4 separate regions of the Homo sapiens genome follow, and all the other regions are linked to region 1. The links are contacts of gene promoters, found by promoter capture Hi-C in human tissues and cell types (Jung and others, 2019). All regions are on one chromosome and are shown on one strand. Each heading gives the region's core, a stretch centred on a gene start or on the middle of the fragment in contact. The rest is flanking DNA. Distances are from core to core; before and after follow the strand shown. Region 1 holds the start of PKP3 (plakophilin 3). Region 2 holds the start of RASSF7 (Ras association domain family member 7). Region 3 overlaps PSMD13 (proteasome 26S subunit, non-ATPase 13). Region 4 overlaps RIC8A (RIC8 guanine nucleotide exchange factor A).

Evidence for each region. The method cuts DNA at HindIII sites, captures the fragments that hold promoters and counts their contacts. A contact is called where the count stands out against the background at its distance.
Region 2: a contact is called between the fragment with the promoter of RASSF7 here and the fragment with the promoter of PKP3 in region 1, in 1 of the 25 tissues and cell types used here (pancreas).
Region 3: a contact is called between a fragment that was not itself captured here and the fragment with the promoter of PKP3 in region 1, in 4 of the 25 tissues and cell types used here (H1 embryonic stem cells, adrenal gland, aorta and 1 more).
Region 4: a contact is called between a fragment that was not itself captured here and the fragment with the promoter of PKP3 in region 1, in 9 of the 25 tissues and cell types used here (H1 embryonic stem cells, aorta, bladder and 6 more).

What each region holds. Positions count from the first base shown.
Region 1 is chr11:392,601-395,560 of GRCh38, reverse strand. PKP3 (plakophilin 3) reads right to left here and starts at 1,352. Exons shown (of 13, transcript NM_007183.4): 1 at 1,037-1,352. The coding sequence starts at 1,268. RefSeq lists an enhancer at 1,137-1,899. The HindIII fragment of the contact is 50,700 bases long and covers 1-2,960 here.
Region 2 is chr11:559,410-562,219 of GRCh38, reverse strand. It overlaps RASSF7 (Ras association domain family member 7), which reads right to left and starts at 1,250. Exons shown (of 6, transcript NM_003475.4): 1 at 743-1,250; 2 at 328-458; 3 at 1-141. The coding sequence starts at 451. It overlaps LMNTD2 (lamin tail domain containing 2), which reads left to right and starts at 1,482. Exons shown (of 14, transcript NM_173573.3): 1 at 1,482-1,537. The coding sequence starts at 1,504. It overlaps LMNTD2-AS1 (LMNTD2 antisense RNA 1), which reads right to left. Exons shown (of 2, transcript NR_147607.1): 1 at 2,744-2,810; 2 at 2,114-2,441. RefSeq lists an enhancer at 1-447. The HindIII fragment of the contact is 35,948 bases long and covers 1-2,810 here.
Region 3 is chr11:251,479-254,453 of GRCh38, reverse strand. It overlaps PSMD13 (proteasome 26S subunit, non-ATPase 13), which reads right to left. Exons shown (of 13, transcript NM_002817.4): 11 at 2,828-2,908; 12 at 2,518-2,634; 13 at 1,470-1,949. The coding sequence ends at 1,854. It also overlaps the pseudogene COX8BP. Among named protein-coding and RNA genes, the nearest start is that of PSMD13, 16 kb to the right of the region's middle. The HindIII fragment of the contact is 4,358 bases long and covers 1-2,975 here.
Region 4 is chr11:213,460-216,579 of GRCh38, reverse strand. It overlaps RIC8A (RIC8 guanine nucleotide exchange factor A), which reads right to left. Exons shown (of 10, transcript NM_001286134.2): 10 at 1,467-2,350. The coding sequence ends at 2,230. SIRT3 (sirtuin 3) reads left to right here. Exons shown (of 7, transcript NM_012239.6): 7 at 1-1,550. Among named protein-coding and RNA genes, the nearest start is that of MIR6743, 5.7 kb to the right of the region's middle. The HindIII fragment of the contact is 6,100 bases long and covers 1-3,120 here.

The DNA of each region.
Region 1 (2,960 bases), core at 103-2,602:
TTATAATCCACCTCCCTCTAATTGGCAGGGCAGCCAGGGTGGTAATTAACCCTTCCCTCACCGTCCTCCACCCCATGACCCCTGGGCACCCGACTTGGTCACCAGCAAGGCTGAGGCCCCTGGAGGGAGGACCCCACAGTCCAGGCCGCCGGGCCGGCCCCTCCGCTGGGCGACCTTCACTTCCCCCTGGCCAGTGGCTGGAGGCCAGTCCTGGGGAAGGCCCCTCTAAACACCAAGTGGACCATGATGAACTGGCATCTGGGTCCCTGGCATTCTGGGAGGTCCATCTTACTGTCTAACCTTAATCCCTGTTGCTGTAGCCTGGGAAGGAGGAAATGGCGTTCCTAGAACCACTGCCTTCAACTCACAGCGTCTGTGCTCCTGTCACTCACACTCACACGCATGCACACACACTCGCGTGAGTGGGGCCAGGATTCCGCCACAGGTGGGTCTGGCTGGCACCGAGGGGTGCTCCTCCACCTGCTGTTCCCACAGAGAAATCTAGGTCACTCCAGCCGGGCCCTCCCCTCTAATTCCTCAGGGAGCCCCTGGTCCAGACAGGCCTGGCTTTCCTCCAGGACTTCCAGCACCCCCACACCTCTCCCCGCTTTCCCGTTCTGCTCATTCCCGTGAGGTATGGGAGGAGCGTGGGTGTCTGGGTGTCCCTGAGACCCTATGTGAGTCTGTGCTACCGGGGCCAGGCGCGTGCGTGTTCCGGGTTTGCCGACCGAGTGGCCTGGCCCGCCTGCCATGTGCCAACCTTCCCTGTCATCCCCCACAGGGATGGCTCCAGGACTCCAGGCACAGGTGGGGCCTGGCCAGGCTCAGTCTTTGGAGGACCCCGGGGTCCCTGCTTGGACAGGGCAGCCCCACCCATGGCTTCTCCCCACGCCCCTGGGGCGGGGTGTGTGACTCAGTGTGAGGCCTGGTGAGTCAGGAGCCGGCCTCACTGCGGCCTCTGCCCTCACACTATCACGTCCGCCCGCAGCCACCTCTCCCCGCCACCGCCATCCCCGCCGCTGTCCCCACCGCCTACCTCTGGCAGTCTCGGCCTCAGGCTCGGGCTCAGCGGCCCCGTTGTGCCGCGGCTGCTGTCCCAGCTGCAAGAGGCGGGCGCGGACCTGCTCCTGGACGCGGGCTGCCCGCAGCCGCTCGGCCTCCGGCCCCTCGGCGCCCCGGCGGTCCAGCTGCAGGTCAGAGGGCAGCGCCAGGGAGCACACGCCGGCCTCAGGCTGCAGGGCCGACAGCAGGAAGTTACCGTCCTGCATGGCGGCAGGTCCACCGGGCCTGGGCCTGGCGGCCGCCTCCAAACCCAACTATCTTCACGTCCTGTCCCTCGAGGCCCTCTCCCTGAAGTCCCCGCCCAGCCAGCCTCACCCAGAGCCGCCTGAAGACAGACGCCTGCCCAGCCCTGAGCGCAGCTGGGGGCGGGGACACCTGGCCAGGTGGGAGGGAGGGGCCGCCGCCTGCTTAAGGTGGAATTTGGGCGGAAGAACAGGCCCTGCATGGCCCCAGGTCCCAGCCTGGCCTCCCGCCTCCTTTTCTCCCATCCCACAACAGGGCCACGGGGACCTGGGTCCTTCTTGTTCTCAGCCTGTAAAGGCCAGACCGGGCCCTTTGTCGTGGGGCTGGGACAGAGGGGCCCTCTGTGTCCTGAGTGTCAGGGAAGGGCAGGGGGCCTGCGGGGGGCCTATGTCCTGCCACCCCCAGCATGAAGGGGAGGGTGCCCCAGTCCCTGGGGGTCTAGGGCCCTAGGTAGCTCCAAGAATCAGCCAGCCTCCATGGTAGCCCAGCCTTCCTGGTGAGGTGGGGATGAGGCCTAGGAAGGGTTGGCAGGAGACACTGTCGGGAGTCAGGGGTCAGTGCCAGGGATCAGGACAAAGGCTGGAGGGACAGAGCTTTAGGGTCCAACGGGACTCCATGGAGGCCCTGGCCCTGGTCCTTGGAATCCAGCGAGCCCCCTCCGCACCAGGAAGCATGTGGATGGACCGGCCCTCCCCCGAAGCCTGCAGACCCTGGAACTCACCCCCAGGACCCCCTCACCCCCTACAGAGGCCTCCAAAACCCTCTCTGGCTTCTGGGACCCTGGCACCACTGCTCCTGCACCCCAGGCCCTGGGGTGGGAGGCCGTTCCCAGCACATGAGTCAGGGTGCAGGGGGGCGGGGCCGCCCCAGGGGGTTGACTCAGAGGGCCTGCACTCCTGTCAGCGCATGTCAGGCTGGGGCAGGAGCGGGTGTGCAGGGAAGAACCAGGGGTCTGGAAGAGCAGAGGCCTGGATGGAGAGGGAGCGAGGGTGGGGGGCCCCTGGTGGGGGTGGGGTAGTGGGGGGCCCCTGGTGGGGGGGCCCTGGACCAAGCAGGGCTTGTGCCCAGAAGGTCTCCTTCTAGCACCACAGCCAGCAAATGGGCTCTGAGGCCCTCTAGCCTCTGGGACAAGCCCCTGGTAGATGGGGGTGGGGATAAGCCTAGGAGGGCTGGGGGTGGGAGCTGAACATCTATGACAACCTCTGGGCTTCTCTCACGAGCTCATCGGACAGCCTCTGCTTCTCCCTGGACCCTGGACCCTGGCTCTGGGCTCTCCTCCAGGGCAGACCCTTGCCCCCTAGCTCCGTCCCTGGAAGATTTTTGCCTTAATGGGGCTGGGGCAGGGGTCTGGCGTGAGGGCCGGGTCAGGGTTAGGAGGCAGCATTAAGGGTGAGGTCAGTTCTGAGGGGAGGAAGCTGGAGAGTAGGAGTCGGAGGTCAGCGTGGGGGGTTAAAGGGGGAGGGGAAGGTCCACTGAAAGGATGGGTGAGGCCCGGGCTGGGGCCACCAGGTGGGGTCGGGGTGGTGGGGAAGGGGTGGGAGACCTACCCGGCTCGTGGTCCGGATCCCGCCAGCCTCCCAGCTCATCCCAGAGGCCACTGCTGACGGCCGAGGTGTCCAGGACTCCATCCCTGGCCCGGCGCGTGCGGGGCAGCC
Region 2 (2,810 bases), core at 1-2,500, 170 kb before region 1:
GCCCTGTGCGCCTCAGGACAAACTGGACATCGCTGGCAAACTGTCCGCAGGTGGCCTGGGCGCCCACTGGACACTCTTGTGGCAGCAACTGCCGCTCCTTCTCCCGAAGCCGCTGCACAAGCACAAAGCGGCCAGTCTGGCCTGGGAAGAAGAGGAGAAGGTCAGCCTATGTCCCCCCGACTCTCTGTCCACCTGGCTTGAAGAGTTGGGAAGAACAAAAAGGATCAGCAACCAGCCCCACTCTCCTTGGGGGAGACCATGGAGCTGGACCACCAGGTCCCACTTCAGCTCTACCTGCCCGGCCTGCCTGACCCCGAGAGGACTCACCTATTGCTTGGGCTAGTGCGATGACCACTTCCTGGCAGGTGGTCTGCTCTGAGACCCCACAGACCACACGCTGGATGCCATCCACCCACACCTTCAGCTCCATGGCCGCCAGTCCCAACAACATGCCTGTCCTGTGGGGAGGGCGCAGGCACCGGGTCAGGACCTGCCTACTCCTATCGCAGGCTGGTCCTCCTCTCCTCATCCTCTTGGCCTGCCCTAGAAACGGCTGGGCTGCCGCCCCTCCGCACGGGCCCCACCCTCCTGTGCCAGCCCCACCCGCCAGCCACACATTCCTGGGGTGGCGGCCCTCCGGAGCACGCATCCTCCCCCACTTCACCAGCTTCCTCTTGCCACGCTCGCACTCCCGGAACAAGGCGAATCATTAACCAGATCCAGCATTTCCTACTCGCCTCACCTGGCTCGGAGGACACTGCCCCCTCCCCGGGCGGCGCGGAGGCGCCCGCACGCCAGGCCCCGCGGCCGCCGGCATGGGAACGCCCCACCCCGACCTGCTCAGGCCGCAGAGGCGCTCGGGGTCGCAACCCAGACCTCGACCCTGCAGATGGAGCAGACTCCGGGTCTGAGCAGCCCCCGCCAGCCCGGGGAGCCCCGCCGCTGCCGCCTAATCGCTGCGCTCGCCCCGAAAGTCCCGGTCCCCGCCGCGGGCACCGAAGCCCGCGCCGCGACCCCAGCCTGGCGGGAGCCAGGGCGTCCCCGTTCCGCAGGGCGGGCGCAGGTGCGGCGCCGCCCCCGCTCTCCGTCCGGGCATCGCGGAAAACTCTCCCCAGTTGGAGTCGGCGTCCGGCCGGCTCGAGGCGCGCCCCGCGCTCCCAAGTACCGGGGACCCGGCGCGGCTCACCTGGGCGCTCGCCAGCCTGGAGACCCGCTCCGGCGCCGCCGCAACCTGCCGCCCCCAGCGCCGCGGCGCACCCGGGCCCCGCGCCCCCATTGGCCCGCGGTCCGCACGCCCCGCCCCTAGCACCCCTATTGGCTGCTCAGCGCGGGCGTTCCGCCCCCTCCCCGCGCCCATTGGCTGCCTCTGTCACGCCCCTCCCCGACCCATTGGCTCGTCGCCGCGCCCCGCCCCCCCCGAGACTACAGGTGTGGGCGGGTCGGAGGGGGGCGCCGAGCCGCAGTCCCCGCCCCCACCTCCCGCCTACCGCGAAAAACGCGGAAATGCGGTGGCTGCGGCCCGCGGGCAGGCGTCGGGGTAGGTGTCTGGCCCCGCTCCTGGGCCGACTTCCTCAGCAGCCTTCTAGTGTGGCGGGTTCCCGCCCAGGAAGGGTCTCTGGCTTGAGATCCCGCAACCCCCGCCTGCGTCCAGGGGCAGCGGGGCCAGCCCCTCCCCTCGCTTCCCGGGCCAGCCTTTGGGGCCTACCGCAGCTGCAGTAGTCTGGACGCGCAGGGGTCGCGGGGTCGCAGGGTCACCAGTCCCGGCGAGGGAGGTGGAGCCCTGCGGAGCTGGCGGGCGCAGAGTCCTGGTGCGGGAGGTGCCCGCTCAGAAGGCCCGGACTCTAGCTGAGGCTCTTCTCCGACACCTTCCTGCCCCTTTTGGACCCAGTGCCAGGCCATGCACACAGTGAAGCTGGCTGGAAGCCGCTCCTTCACCCCCTACCCTACTGTCCCGCCCAGGGCCCCGCAGCCTCGCGGTCAGCTGTGTGGGCCATTGATTGTTCTGCCCAGCTCAGAAAGAGTTGTGGGCGTGGGCCTCCTGCCCGCCTGTCTCCTGTGCTCCCCCAGGGAGCCCTTACATAGCCGAAAGTTGCAGAGATGAAGGGTGAAAGCTGGAATGATTGGGTTTTAATGGGTCAGGTCTGGGACCTGGCTTTTCTCCTGGAGCAGAGGGAATACTTGTCATGGTAATGGGGTAGCCCAGAGGGTGTGGACACGGCTGGGAAAAGTGAGGCTTCAGTTTGGGGGTCAGGTAGGTGAGTGCCTGTCACTGAGGTCAAAGGAGCTGTGGGCTGGGCCTGGCGGTGGAGGCGGGTGCCTGTAGTTTCAGCAAGTCAGGAGGCGGAAGTGGGAGGATCACCTGAGCCCAGGAATTCGAGGTTAACGTGCGCTGTCATCACACCGAAGCATTCCAGCCTGGACAGCGGAGCAAGACCCTGTCTCTAAAGAATTAATTATTAATTTAAAAACAGGCTGTGGGCAGGAGTGTACTATTGCCAGTTAGCGTTCAGCACAGTCCCCAGCTTGTCACTGTTACCTGTCTGCTTCCCCCACACACCCATGGCTATGCTGGGCTGGCTCACAGGCAGCAGTGCCCCCCTATTTATCCCGCTGCTGCTGCCAGGCTAGGTAGGGGATGCTGGGGCCTCCCTCAGGGTGTTGGTCACTAAGTGGTCCCCCCGCTAAGCTGAGCAGTGGCTCAGCCTCTCACACCTCCTCCAGGCTGGGCTGGCCCAGAACTCACCTAGGGGCCTGGTCTGGGGTCTCCCTGGAGGCTCCTGGTAACAAACAGCCCCACCCCTTCTGGGTGC
Region 3 (2,975 bases), core at 227-2,726, 140 kb after region 1:
GGGCTGAGGCAGAATTGTTTGAACCCAGGAGGTAGAGGTTGCAGTGAGCGGAGATGGTGCCATTGCACTCCAGCCTGGGCAACAAGAGTGAAACTCCGTCTCAAAAATAAAAAAATGAAAAAAAAGTAAATAAATATCTTTTAAATAATTTTAAAATTATTTTTTCCAGAAATATATTTTCAGAATTTTGATTTTTCGGGATTTCAGCATGCAGAATTGTGTCTCTCTGGGCTGTGATCAGCTCATGTCTGGGATGAGGCAGGAGCCTTGGTGGGGTGCAGGGAGAGCAGATGAGGGTAGGAGCAGGACCAGCAAGGCAGGCAGTGGTCAGAGCACTCAGGCCTTGGGGGTGAGTGAAGCCTGTTGGAGGATGCTGAGCAGCGGCAGCAACAAGACCTGATTGTTCTGGAAGACTGTCTGGGCTGCTGTGTGGAGGAGCGGTTATGGAGGACAGGTTTGAGGCTGGACTTAGGGAGGGTGGGGAGTCAGCGGGCTCGATGTACACATGAGTGTCTGAGGGAAATGGAGGCTCACACTAAGACATTTGGCCTGAGCAGCTGAGAGGGGCTGCGGAAGGTTGAAGGGTGCACCACAGGGCCTTGGGAACTTGACAGTGAGGTGGGTATAAAGGCTAGTGGTCAATAGATCCCAGCAATTGTGACTGACGAGGAACAGCTGGGGTGTCAGGCCATCTGGACCAGGGCCAAACGAGGTCTGGAGAGGGTGGGTGGAAAGACCGAGAGGGGTCTGGGGCCATGAGGTCAGGCGAGGCCTGGACGAGGTGGAAAAAACCAGGAGCTCAGACACCAGCAACCAAAGAGGAAAAGGCTGGAGAAGATGCCGGACAACTGTTCTTTGCCAGCCTAGCAGACTTGTGGGTGCTTTCCTCCAACAGGAGCAGGCCGTGGGGCTCTCACATTCATCAGCTTCCTGGTTCCTGGAGGCTGGGTCTCACCCGACCTGGAGAGCTGCAAGAGCTCCATGCTGTCACTGCAGGCCCAGGACTGAAAGATCACATTAAACTGTCCTTCCACCTAATGTTCACTCTGTGATTCTTTGTGTACGTGCACCTCCACTCCCAGACGGGGAACCTCAAGGTGGTTTCCTTTACATGCCCAGTCCCAGGGATGGCTCATGTCCGCACTGGGGCACACCAGGTCACAGATGCTGGTGGCTATTTGAATGATGAGTGGTGACAAGGATGTGGATGGATGCCTGTGTCGGGGCAGGTACCTGAGAGGGCTGGAGAAGGGAGTGGATACCCCTAGGTCTCTCTTGACTAACAATAAAGATAGGACCAGCGTCTTCGTTAGTCCTTGGTGCTGGATTCTGCCCGTCTACTGTATGTGCAGGGAGGAGAAGGGCCAAGGCTACCCCCACCGTGTCTTCCCAAGGTTCCAACTCATGCTTTTTAACCTCCAGGCACAGGCTTGGCCTGGAAGCTAAGCCCAAGAAAACAGAGCCACAAGAAGAACAAAGCAGAGGGGTTTATTATAGGAACATTCTCAAACCGCAACGGAAAAGATGTCCGTACAGGTGGATGGGGATGGAGATCCACCTCGGAGTACACAGACTTCAGGGGGCCTCCTGCCTGGCACGTTCTTTCTCTCCCGTATCACCTAAGACCCTGAGACCCCCACCCTCTGCAGGAGAGACCCACAAAGAAGCCTCCTCCCTGTGGCCTGGCTCCCATCAGGGACAGTCCTGTTTTTAGAGCAAGAACAGTCTGTACTTCAGACAGGATCCCAACCCCCACCCAAATTCAATGTCGACCGTCTGAGCAGCCAGCTTCATTGGCTGCAAACGCCTCTCTCAGGTGAGTCAAAGGAGACACGACGGGGAACCAGGGGGCCCTAGGTGAGGATGTCATGGGCCTGGTGCTCCACCAGCATCTCCATGCTCTTCACATCCGTGCACCAGAACTCCAGGCGGTCCTTCATTCCCTTGATCTGAAATGGAAATCCGGACACAAGGGACGTTAAGACACGCAGGAGACACAGGCCGAGCGGCCGGCACAGCACCTGATGGGGTGACTCTACATCTCCAGCTAACTCTCTAGGGCAGCTCTAGTAAAAAGGACCTCTGAGCTGGGGGAGTGGGACGGGACTTGCCGGGTTAATTCTTTTCACAGGAACGTTAGAAAAAACTTGCATGAAAGAAAGCAGACAAGGACAGAGGAAATCCACAGGATCGCATTTCCAGCAAATGTAAGAGCGACGTGAGCTCAAATCACAGAACCAGGAACGTATCTGATCAGAGCTCCTATCTTAAGATTAAAAGGCACCGTCAGCACAACCAGTGCCATTGTCATCATAAGCTTTTAAATGCAGGGTTCAAACCCTAGGCTTGCATTAAATTAGGCTCTTAGAAAAACCCAACAGCAGTATTTCCTTCTCCAAAACCTCTTGTCTAATAATGCTGTCTTCCCAAATGGCTTCCATCCAAATGAAACTAAGACGGTATAGACACAACCCCTCAAAATCCACAGAGGTGAATAATGGGTTTCAAACACATCACCTGTTGCAAATCCAACACTCGGGGCTGCACCCAGGTCATGTGGACTCGTTTGTCCACCTCGTCTATACTGCCTTTCACCAGCCCCACCGAAAGGGCCTTCATCACCAGAAGCTCCACCTGTGCAGAGAGGGAGGCGTGTGTAAGACAAGATAGCCTGACACACCCCCATGGACCCAGATGGCTTGTGAGAAGCAGATGCCGCTCCTCCCGTCATTTTTTACTGTCTAGGGAGCACAGCGCTCACACAAGAGCCTTGACTCCTCCATGTGGCAGCTTTGCTGCTCTAACACCCTGAGCCTAGGGACCGTACCTCATTCACTGTGATTTTAGCACTTTTGGCAATTTCTTCAAAAGTGAGTTGTCTGTGATTGGCAGGTCGTGTGAAAGTCATCTGGAAAAAATTTTATTAACTATTTTAAACTATTTTTCCAAATAAAAATAGAGAACTGATAAGGATG
Region 4 (3,120 bases), core at 374-2,873, 180 kb after region 1:
TGGACACCCGAGGCTGCCACTGGAATGTCTTCTCAGGCCATGAGCTGCAGTGACTGGTAGGGCTGTGTTTACAGTCAGGGCCACCCCGTCACATATACAAAGGAGCTGCCTGCCTGTTTGCTGTGTTGAACTCTTCACTCTGCTGAAGCTCCTAATGGAAAAAGCTTTCTTCTGACTGTGACCCTCTTGAACTGAATCAGACCAACTGGAATCCCAGACCGAGTCTGCTTTCTGTGCCTAGTTGAACGGCAAGCTCGGCATCTGTTGGTTACAAGATCCAGACTTGGGCCGAGCGGTCCCCAGCCCTCTTCATGTTCCGAAGTGTAGTCTTGAGGCCCTGGTGCCGCACTTCTAGCATGTTGGTCTCCTTTAGTGGGGCTATTTTTAATGAGAGAAAATCTGTTCTTTCCAGCATGAAATACATTTAGTCTCCTCAAAGGGACTGCAGGTGTTGACATGAGTTGGAAAGGGAACCCTGGGATACGTGGCGTCCCCTCTATTGGAACAGTCTGAGGACTGAAGGCATTTGTCCCTGGATTTATTGGAGACGGCCCAGCTCCTCCCTCTGAAGGTGGTCACATTCTGTTGACTCTCCATACTCAGCCTCTCCTCCAGAAACAGATCTGTTCCAGAACATTCCAGCACTTTCTATCTGGCCTCCTTGTCCCCACACTACGCCCCCCCACCCTCGCCAGGGCTTCCTCTAGTGACACTGTTAGAGCTAATCTCTGAGACAGGGAAGGCATTACTCACTTAAAACCCAGGCTGAGTCCTGGCCACCTGCTGGATTGTGACATAGGAGGTGGAATCCACTGAACTGCTACTTCTGCACAGGCTCCTTCTCCTGGGGCTGTACCCAGGCCCAGCCCTGATGGCTCACCCTGTCAGGCACCAGCTGCTCCCTCCTGGGCTCTCACCCACCTGCACATCCTCCTTCCTAGCATCACATTACCTGCGTGTTTCCCCAGACAAAAGCACTTCCCATTCTTGAACCTTGCCTACCCTGGGCTGAGCTGACGGCAATAGATTTAATGACAGTGACTCCCAGGAAGGGGGTCCTGTGACTTTGCGCCTTAATAAGAACAAAAGGTGGAATTGGTGACCTAGGAAAACTGTTGAATTCTAAAAAGAATGAAGTTAGTTTCTAACCCTAGTTAATGTTCCTTTTTTATTTTTTGAGTCTTGCCCTGTCACTCAGGGTGGAGTGCGGTGTTATGATCTCAGCTCACTGCAACTTCCGCCTCCCGGGTTTAAGCGATTCTCCTGGGTAGCTGGGATTACAGGTGTGTCCCACCACACCTAGCACATGGGCATATTTGTAATAGAGACAAGGTTTTGCTATGTTGGCCAGGCTGGTCTCGAACTCCTGGCTTCAAGTGATCCACCCACCTCGGCCTCCCAAAGTGCTGGGATTACAGGCATGAGCCACTGTGCCTGGCCCCTTTATTTGATAATTTACACATACATTTTTGTCCAAAACTCTTCTTTATTTCAAGATGATGTTTCTGTGGCTATGTGTGGTATGTGGTATAAATCTCAATCTATGGTCACACGAGGGGCATTTTCCTTGTTGTAAGTGTAGTCTAAACCAGTAGGAAGGAGGTTTAATTGCCAAAACCAGCGAGAACTCGGGCACTGTGGATACTACAGTGGGCAGCTGAACGAGGACCAAGGAGAATGTCTAAGAGGCCTCCAGCCCTGCGCTCAGTGAAGACAGGACAGGAACAACAGAGCATACATACCTTGGAAGGGTGTGTTCTGATATACTCGTATGGAAAGTTCTGACAGGTTTTCTCCCTGGGAAGTGCAGCACATACCCCAACACACTGGCTCTGCCAGTGTGCCAATCCCAGATGGTGCTTGCTTTGTGTGCACCCACACCCAAACCCCTGCCCTCCCATATGCTCTTCTGTGTGCCCAGGTAGGCCCTGCCCTCAGGCAGCAGCTTCTGAACACATTCCTCTTGGCGCAGACAAAAGAAAGTACTTCGTCTGTGGAATTCGAGGCTGAGCCTGAGTTCTAGCACAAGAAGACCGTTGCAGTCCAGAGATGAGAAACTGGACCAGAGGCAAATCATGAACAGAACGGGAGTCAAGAGAAGGGGTTTCTAAGATGGAGAAGTGGGGGCGGGTGTGGATCCAGTGGGATGTGGCTTCCCCAGGTTGCAACCCCAAGGAAGTCTCTGGAAGCAGCACCAGTCCTGATGGGGGAGCAGAAGAGCTGCCATCCTCAGTCAGGGTCCGAGTCAGGGTCCGAGGAGAGCTGCTGCTCCATAGTCTCGCACATGGCATCCTGCAGGGACGTAAGATGACCCCGGGGACTCATCCCCATTGGCTGGATGACTCTGTTCCTGTTGGGGAAAGGTGCAGTGGGGCTGGGGAAGGGGCCCAGTTGGCCAGGCAGGGGTCCTACTCACCCGTGGCTGCTACCTTCCTCTCTACCAAGTAGGCTGCTCCCATTTACTGGGGAAGCCTGGTTGGACCTTCTGTTAACTGGGCCCAAACCCTAACTGCTGCCTCCTGGCTTTAAGCAGTTTCCTATTTTAAACATCTAAATTGGCCTTAAGCAGGCTCTTAATTTGGACACTGGGCCATCTCCAATAAATCTGGCGACATTAGTCTCTTTTTTTTTTTTGAGACGAAGTCTCACTCTGTTGCCAGGCTGGAGTGCGGTGGCACAATGTCAGCTCACTGCAAGCTCTGCCTCCTGGGTTCAAGTGATTCCCCTGCCTCAACCTCCCGAGCAGCTGGGACTACAGGCGCCCACCACCACGCCCAGCTAACTTTTTTTTTGTATTTTAGCAGAGATGGGGTTTCACCATGTTGGCCAGGATGGTCTCGATCTCCTGACCTTGTGATCTACCTGCCTCAGTCTCCCAAAGTGCTGGGATTATAGGCGTGAGCTACCACGCCCGGCCTTAGACAGTCTCTTAATTTCTCTGGGCCTCAGTTATCATCTGTAAAAGGGGCACAATACTGATCTCAATATACCCATCCCCTGGGGGATTTCCTCCAGGGCAAGTGATTTCAAACGTGAGCAATGCAACCTAATACCAGGATCCTAAGCTCTCCTCTGATCCTACCTCCTGGGGCTCACAAGACAGGATGTGGGTCAGCTCTC